Regions from separate parts of the Homo sapiens genome. Here region 1 is linked to region 2. The links are contacts of gene promoters, found by promoter capture Hi-C in blood cells and fetal thymus (Javierre and others, 2016). All regions are on one chromosome and are shown on one strand. Each heading gives the region's core, a stretch centred on a gene start or on the middle of the fragment in contact. The rest is flanking DNA. Distances are from core to core; before and after follow the strand shown.

Region 1 (3,565 bases), core at 81-2,580, 540 kb after region 2:
GTAATGTCAGATTTTTGCATATTAAGACCCAGAGTTCAAAGAATTGAACAAAGTATGGATCCCAGAATACAAAGAATAGTATATTATGTAAAGAAAATTCCTGCCTCAAAGGGAAGGAAAATAACTGTTGCTAGATGCTGGAAAGTAAGAGAAAAAAATTAAGAGTAAAGGATTATATATGAGTGATCTGATTTTCCTCCCTCATGATTAAAACTAGAACTGGGGGTGGTGCTGGTGGTAGACGTTCAAAGATAGAAACATTTAAGGGACTCACAAGCAGAGGGCACGTTCTTCCCTTTACAGAACATAGACCATGAAAATTGCAAGATGCTGAGGAATGACCCACATTTAGCATAGCCCTGGAGAGCCTTGGTGCCATCGTGCAGGTACAGGAGGAGGCTAAGAGCATGGCTACAATGCCACATGGTCTGCACCTAGCACAAAAGAGGATTCAGAATTTCTTTGGAGTTTTGGCATGGGGAGGGGTAGAAAGCAGGGTATGAAACTGCCCAAAAGACCAATAGATCAGAGACATCTGGAAGCAACATTTAGAGAAGGAATTTCCATCAAGAGACCACAGAGCCTCTGTTTCTGATAATTTTACCTGTAGCCAGGAAATGATTCCTGTTCATGACAAAGCAAATAAAAGTTGTCAAGCAGAGTTCATGGATCTCTATAAGTCAAATCCTCCTTTAATCCTGTTGTTTAGTTCTTATGGATTTTCTCATTAATTAATGAGTTAAATGAAATCTTTGACATGTGGTCATGTGTTCATTTTCATGAAAATTATGGTTTTGGGGGTTTCTTGAAATTCTTTTTACAGAAGACAATGACTGTCACCTCAAAATGCTAAAATAGAAAAAGTATCTTGGTACTCATGTCTGGTAAAAATATCTTTCAAAAGTGAAAATTAAAAAATTAGGGGACAAATTCAACTTGAGAGAGTCAGTAAGAGCAGACCCATAGTAAAGGAAATATTAAAAAGAATCTTTTTTTCAGGCAGAAGGGAAATAATCCATAGATTAGTAGAAAATACAGAAAAGAATAAAAAACTAAATATTTTGGGAAAACTAAGTGATATGGTTTGGCTCTGTATCCCAGCCCAAATTTCATCTTGAATTGTAAACCCCATGTTCAAGGGAGGGACCTGGTGGGAGGTGACTGGATCATGGGGGTGGTTCCCCCATGCTGTTCCAGTGATAGTGAGTGAGTTCTCACGAGAGCTGATGGTTTTGAAGTGTGGCACTTCCTCACACTCTCTCCCTCTCCTGCTGCCATATAAGGTGTGCCTTGCTTCCCTTTCACCTTCTACCATGATTGTAAGTTTCCTGAGCCCTCTCTACCCACTGGGAACTGTGAGTCAATTAAACCTCTTTCTGGCTGGGCATGGTGACTCACACCTGTAATCCCAGCACTTTGGGAGGCTGAGGTGGGCGGATCACTTGAGATCAGGAGTTCGAGGCCAGCCTGGGCAGCATGGTGAAATCCCATCTTTACTAAAAATACAAAAATTAGCCTGGTGTGGTGGTAGGAGTCTGTAGTCCCAGCTGCTTGGGAGGCTGAAGCAGTAGAAACACTTGAGCCTGGGAGGTGGAAGTTGCAGTGAGCCGAGAGTGGACCACTGCACTCCAGCCTGGGCAAAGGGCAAGACTCTGTCTGTAAAAACAAACAAACAACAAAAACTTCTTTCCTTTATAATTACCCAGTCTCAGGTAGTATCTTTATAGCAGTGTGAAAACATACTAATACACTAAGTAAGTGTTGACTTCATAAAAGTAATAATAATGTCTTCCAGAGTTAGACTACATGTAAAATGAAAATATATAATAATAGTACAAAAGATGAAATGGGGGAAATAGAATAAAAGTGTTCTCATGTCCTAGCAATGTCCAGAAAGTAGCGAAATACTAACTCATTTTGGAGTTTAAAAAGTTAATGTGGCAATTGCTTGGGTAACTATAAACAATATAGTAACAAAATGTATAAAACTGAATTATACAAATAATCCAAAAGAAGTCATAAAATTTAAATCCAAATGTGAGATGTGTGTGTGTGTGTGTGTGTGTGTGTGTGTGTGAGAGAGAGAGAGAGAAATATTGTTAGACTGGATATAAAATATAATTCATGAATATTCAATATTGAATAGGAGGTTACAGAAACATTTAAGGTAAAACAATGAAAGAGTATGTACCATGCAATCACCAACCCAGCCAAAGCCACTGTAGGCATAATAATAATCAGACAAAATGAACTTAGGGCAATCTTACTAGAAATTAACAGGACTGGTCCATAATGACAGTAGGGTCAATCTACTGGGAAAAAAATGTAGCAATTTAAATTTTAGGCACCTAATAAATATCAAATAACTACATAAAAATTAAAATATATAGCAAAAGTTAACAGAACTAAAATAAATAAATTTATAATCATATTGGAAAATTTTTGCACACCCCTTCTGGTAAAGGATAGTAAAAACAGCCAAAAGAAATGAAGATTTCTTTCAAATTCATGAATAAAATATATAGAATTTTGTACTTAACAACTGAAATGTACTTTATTTTCAACTACATATGAAATACATGACACATTTGATAGATGCTGAGCTACAAAGCATTTTCCCCCAAAAGTTAAATAATTAAGATTATACAAAGTATATTATCGATATTATCTGAATGTAGGAAATTAAATTAGAAATCTAAATAAATATATCTAGAAACTTTTTCAAGTATTTGGAAATTAAGCAGTTCTCTTCTAAGTTTCTAGTAAGATTTTTAAAAATCAAAATAGAGGTGAGAAAATATTTTAAACTGAATGTTAACAAAATGAAATATACTAAGATTTGTGGGATGCTAGTATAGCCATGCTTAGAGGGAAATTTATAGTCTTAAGTGCATTTACTAAAAAAAGAACAAAGGTTGAAATCAATGAATGAAATAGAGATTTTCAGAATTTAGAAAACAATAGTAAATTAAAACTAAAGAAATAAAAGAAAGAAAATTATAAATATAAAAGCAAATAAAAATAGGAAAGAACATACAGTACAGAATATTTTAAAAGGCAAAAGTTGGTTCCTTAAAAGACTAAATAAGTAAAGAAGAGAAATCACAAAATACCAATAACAGGAATCAAGATGGGTCACCACTAAAGATCCTATAGAGTTTTAAAAAACAATATCATCATAAACAATTTTACGTAAATAAACTTGAAATTTTATCAAATTACAGAGAGTGAAACAAGAAGAAACAGCAAATATGAATGGTCCTCTATCAGAGAAAATAAATACATAATTAAAAACCTGTACATAAAAACAATTCATGCTCAGATTTTACTAATTAATTATCCAAAGAATTAAGAAAAATATTAACACCAGTCTTAGTTATTCTCTACCAGAGAACAAGAACAAGAAAAGTCCTTTGCCTACTTGTTTTAAGAGGTTAGCATAATCTTGATTTCAAAACCTAACAAGCACATTAAAGTAAACAGATTACAAGCCAAACTCTTTCAGAAATATAGATGCAGGAATATAAAACAAAACATTAGAAAATCGAAGCAATATATGAAATTG
Region 2 (3,751 bases), core at 621-3,120:
TTAAGGAGTGCTAATGTAAATGTTATTGTGTTTTTAATTTCAAATACCACTTGTTCATTGCTAGTGCATAGGAAAGCAATTGATATTATATATTAACCTCATATCCTACAATCTTGCTATAATCGCTTGTTGATTCCAGGAGTTTTTTTTAATTGATTCTTTTAGATTTTCTACATAGATGTTCATGTCATCTGTAAACATCTATGTATTTCTTCCTTTCCCTAATCATTTTAAAACTGAGTAGCATTCTATGAATTGAAAATGCAAATAATTTATTTAATCTCTCCGCATTGGTATGCACCTAAGCAGTTTCCTATTTTTCACTGTTCAGTATAGTGCACTGTACACACATGCATACACACATACCTCTTTGAACACATGTAGGACTATATCTGCAGAGAAGTTTCCCAAAGGAGAGATTGTTGAATCCAAGATACTGTATTTGTTAGGGTAGGCTAAGCTGCTACAAAAACAGATCTAAACATATAATGATTCAGTGTAATAGAAGAATGTTTCCCCATATGTAACTGTTTTGGGTAAATGTTAGAAGTGATCAGGCAGCTTTGCTCCACACTGTTTTTAACGGACCTAGACGCTTTCCATCTTGCAGTCCTGCCATCTCCTAAGACCTCATAACACTTGGCAGAAAGGGAAAGATAATGTAGAGAAGTCATTCCACTTTTCATAAAAGCCCAGGCCCAGAAATGGCATATATTACTTTATTTCACGTTGACCACCTCTGAATGCAAAGATATCTAGGAAGTGTTGGCTAGCCACATGCCCAAGCAAATAAGGAGAGAATGAATTTGAGGAGACAAATTGTAGTCTCTCCCTCAAGTATATAAATTTAAAATTTTGATAGGCACTGCCAAATTGCTCTCCTAGGAAATTGTACTAATTTACACTCCTACTAGTAGTCTATTGAATGATCCCTTACCTTATCCTCACCAATTCTGGCCATTTTCAGTGCGTGTATTTTTTTTTTCAAGCAATCTGAAAGAGAGGTATCTCATTTTTATTTTCATTTCTTTTATTGTGTTGAGATTGAGCAATTTTTCATATGCTAAAAGCTCTTGTTTTTCTTTGGTATATAACTGGTTCTAAATATGCTTTTTTTTTTTTTAAGTGAGCCTATTCTCTCCTCAGTTTTCAATGGACTCTGATAATTTTTATCACAAGTTCTCCATCATGTTTCGTTTCTTTTCTTTTTTTTTTTTTTTTTTTTTGAGACAGAGTCTCGCTTGTTGCCCAGACTGGAGTGCAATGGCGCGATCTTGGCTCCCTGCAACCTCCGCCTCCCGGGTTCAAGTGATTCTCATGCCTCAGCCTCCTGAGTAGCTTGGATTACTGGCACCCACCACCACGCCCTGCTAATTTTTTGTATTTTTAGTAGAGACGGAGTTCTCCGTGTTTCTCTTATAACAGTTTTGTTGGCTCTTTTTTTCGCTCTTGACTGTCATAATCAATTTACAAAATAATAAAAAAGAAGCCATAGAAGATTTTGGTTTGAATTGCATTAAATTTGTAGTCATATGTGGGGAAAAAAAATTTTCTTTCCCAAAAATGACCATTATTATATCAGGCAGCTATTGGTGTATAGCAAACAACCACAAATGTCAGGACATATAATAATAAGTATTCTTTACTCACATTTTTGTGGGTCATCGAGGGTCTGCTGATCTCAGGCAAGGCTTGGCTGGGGCCCTGCTTCAGTTCAGATGCAGCTGGGTGAATGTGGCACATCATTGCAGTTTGGACTCTTGTCACCTCCAATAGTGTTTCCCCCAGACTCACAACAAGTAGCAGCCACTACCCAGAGGAAATTCTTCTTGTACTGATAGCAAGTGCCAGAGAACAAGCAGAAGTATGCAGTGCCTCTAAAATTTAGGTTGATACACTGCTATTCCTGCCCACATTCCATTGGCCAATATAAGAAAAATGTCCAAGTCCCTAGTCAAGAAGCAGTAGGGTACACTCCAACTTTTGTAGTTAGTTACATGGCAGAAGACACGTACTCAGGGAGGGTTGAAAAACTGGAACCAGTAATTGTGATATGTACCACATCATCCATGATAAGAGAAGTCTGGGGCGTTACCTTTTTGGTTCAGTTCTTTTTAAAAATGTCCCTGAGTACAGTTTCATAGGAATTTTATAGCTTTTGCACATTTCTTAAGTTTATGCCTGTTATGTTTTTCTTTTTGGTTTTTGTTCCATTTATTAATAAGATTTTTTAATGTAATATTTTCTCATTTGTTTTTATCACGTAGGAATCTGTTGTTGTGAATAACATTAGTAGGTATTGTAATGTTTGACCCTGGTTTGCATTCCCGGAATTCCTGTAATAAGTCAGCCTGGTTAAGGTGAATTATTCTTTTACTATACTGTTGTATATAGTTAGCTAATATTTTATTTAGGATTGCCACAAGATTTAATGAGACTAGTATAATCTATTCATATCTTTTAAAAACATATTAAAAATTAAACTCCAGAGACTTTTACTTGTTTAAATAATAAAGTTGATAATTTTCACAAAGCAGATGACATTTTACTAGTGAAAATTACTTATTTGAACAGTGGAATAGTGAGGCAAGCAAACCAACTTTTCATGCCCTCGAATAAAAGAAAATATATAAATTTATTTTGACATTAACTAAATTGTTTTCCTGCAGGTTGCTGCTCCAAGATAGCCAAAATGTGGAAGCACTGAGAATGCAGGCACTCTACTATGTGTGTAGAGAGGGGGATATAGAGAAGGTAAGTGGCATTGTATTATTTAAGTTTCCTATATTAAAAAATATATTTCATTACACATACACACCCATGTGTGCATGTGCATATACATTAAAGCCTTGAAGTTCTCTTTTAAAATATACATCATGGTAGTTTTTAGTTGATTACTAGAGTATACCTTAACAAAGAGGTCAGCTTCTGAAATCTATTGGTAAAGCAAAAATACTATACAGTTAATATTACCCTTGAAAATCCCTTAAATCATTAATTATAGTATATATGGCTTTCTGTATGAAACTCCTGTGTAGTAATATATATGATTAATGTAACTAGATACGTAATGTAACTAGTGATACTAGATATGAGAAAGTATGTATGCAAAATGTAATTTATAGTATATTTACAATTTAACTGAATTTGCAAAAATTAAATGGGCTTGGGATAAAATCCCATTATACCTCATAATAAAGCACATCTGTTTCTGTAGTAGTGAACACATTGACTGTAGATTGGATCATGGAGTGCCAAACTCTAATCTGAAGGAAGTAATATTAGTATAACATGTAGTAGATTTGCATTTTGTTTAGTGTGGTTAAATTGGTTAATGTGACAGTGCCTGATAGATACTTCAGTAAATGCTAGGAGTATCTTAGTAGGGGTAAATCTTCAGTAAATTTTCCAGGCATTGAAATTACTTATACTAAGTACTGTAATGATTTTTCTAGTCTAGAATATATTTTGAATATAAACCAGTCTGTATAGGCAATTGAAGGGCTGACCTCATATACTTGTAAATACATTATCATTCGTATCTCATTTGTGTCATGAATTAACTATTGAAGGCGGAGCTGGGCATGTACAGTTAATGGAATATTATGGGTGTCTTCGCCTATCCAAAGGTTTCCATTCAATAACAAGTATTAAAGAAACACATTCTAAAACACATTTATAATTATTGAGTTTGTTAGAATCTTAAATATGTTTTATAACATATAATCATCCATTGAAGGAGGAGGAATTT

What was found. Contacts are between HindIII fragments. The CHiCAGO score rates a contact against its expected background, and 5 or more counts as called.
Region 1: a contact is called between a fragment that was not itself captured here and the fragment with the promoter of TTC21B-AS1 in region 2, in 5 of 17 cell types (total B cells, M2 macrophages, naive CD4 T cells and 2 more). The highest score is 7.8, in total B cells.

Annotation. Positions count from the first base shown.
Region 1 is chr2:165,396,566-165,400,130 of GRCh38, reverse strand. No RefSeq gene overlaps it. Among named protein-coding and RNA genes, the nearest start is that of CSRNP3, 71 kb to the left of the region's middle. The HindIII fragment of the contact is 5,097 bases long and covers 1-3,565 here.
Region 2 is chr2:165,931,976-165,935,726 of GRCh38, reverse strand. TTC21B-AS1 (TTC21B antisense RNA 1) reads right to left here and starts at 1,870. Exons shown (of 4, transcript NR_038984.1): 1 at 1,651-1,870. It overlaps TTC21B (tetratricopeptide repeat domain 21B), which reads left to right. Exons shown (of 29, transcript NM_024753.5): 7 at 2,670-2,754. The HindIII fragment of the contact is 5,075 bases long and covers 1-3,751 here.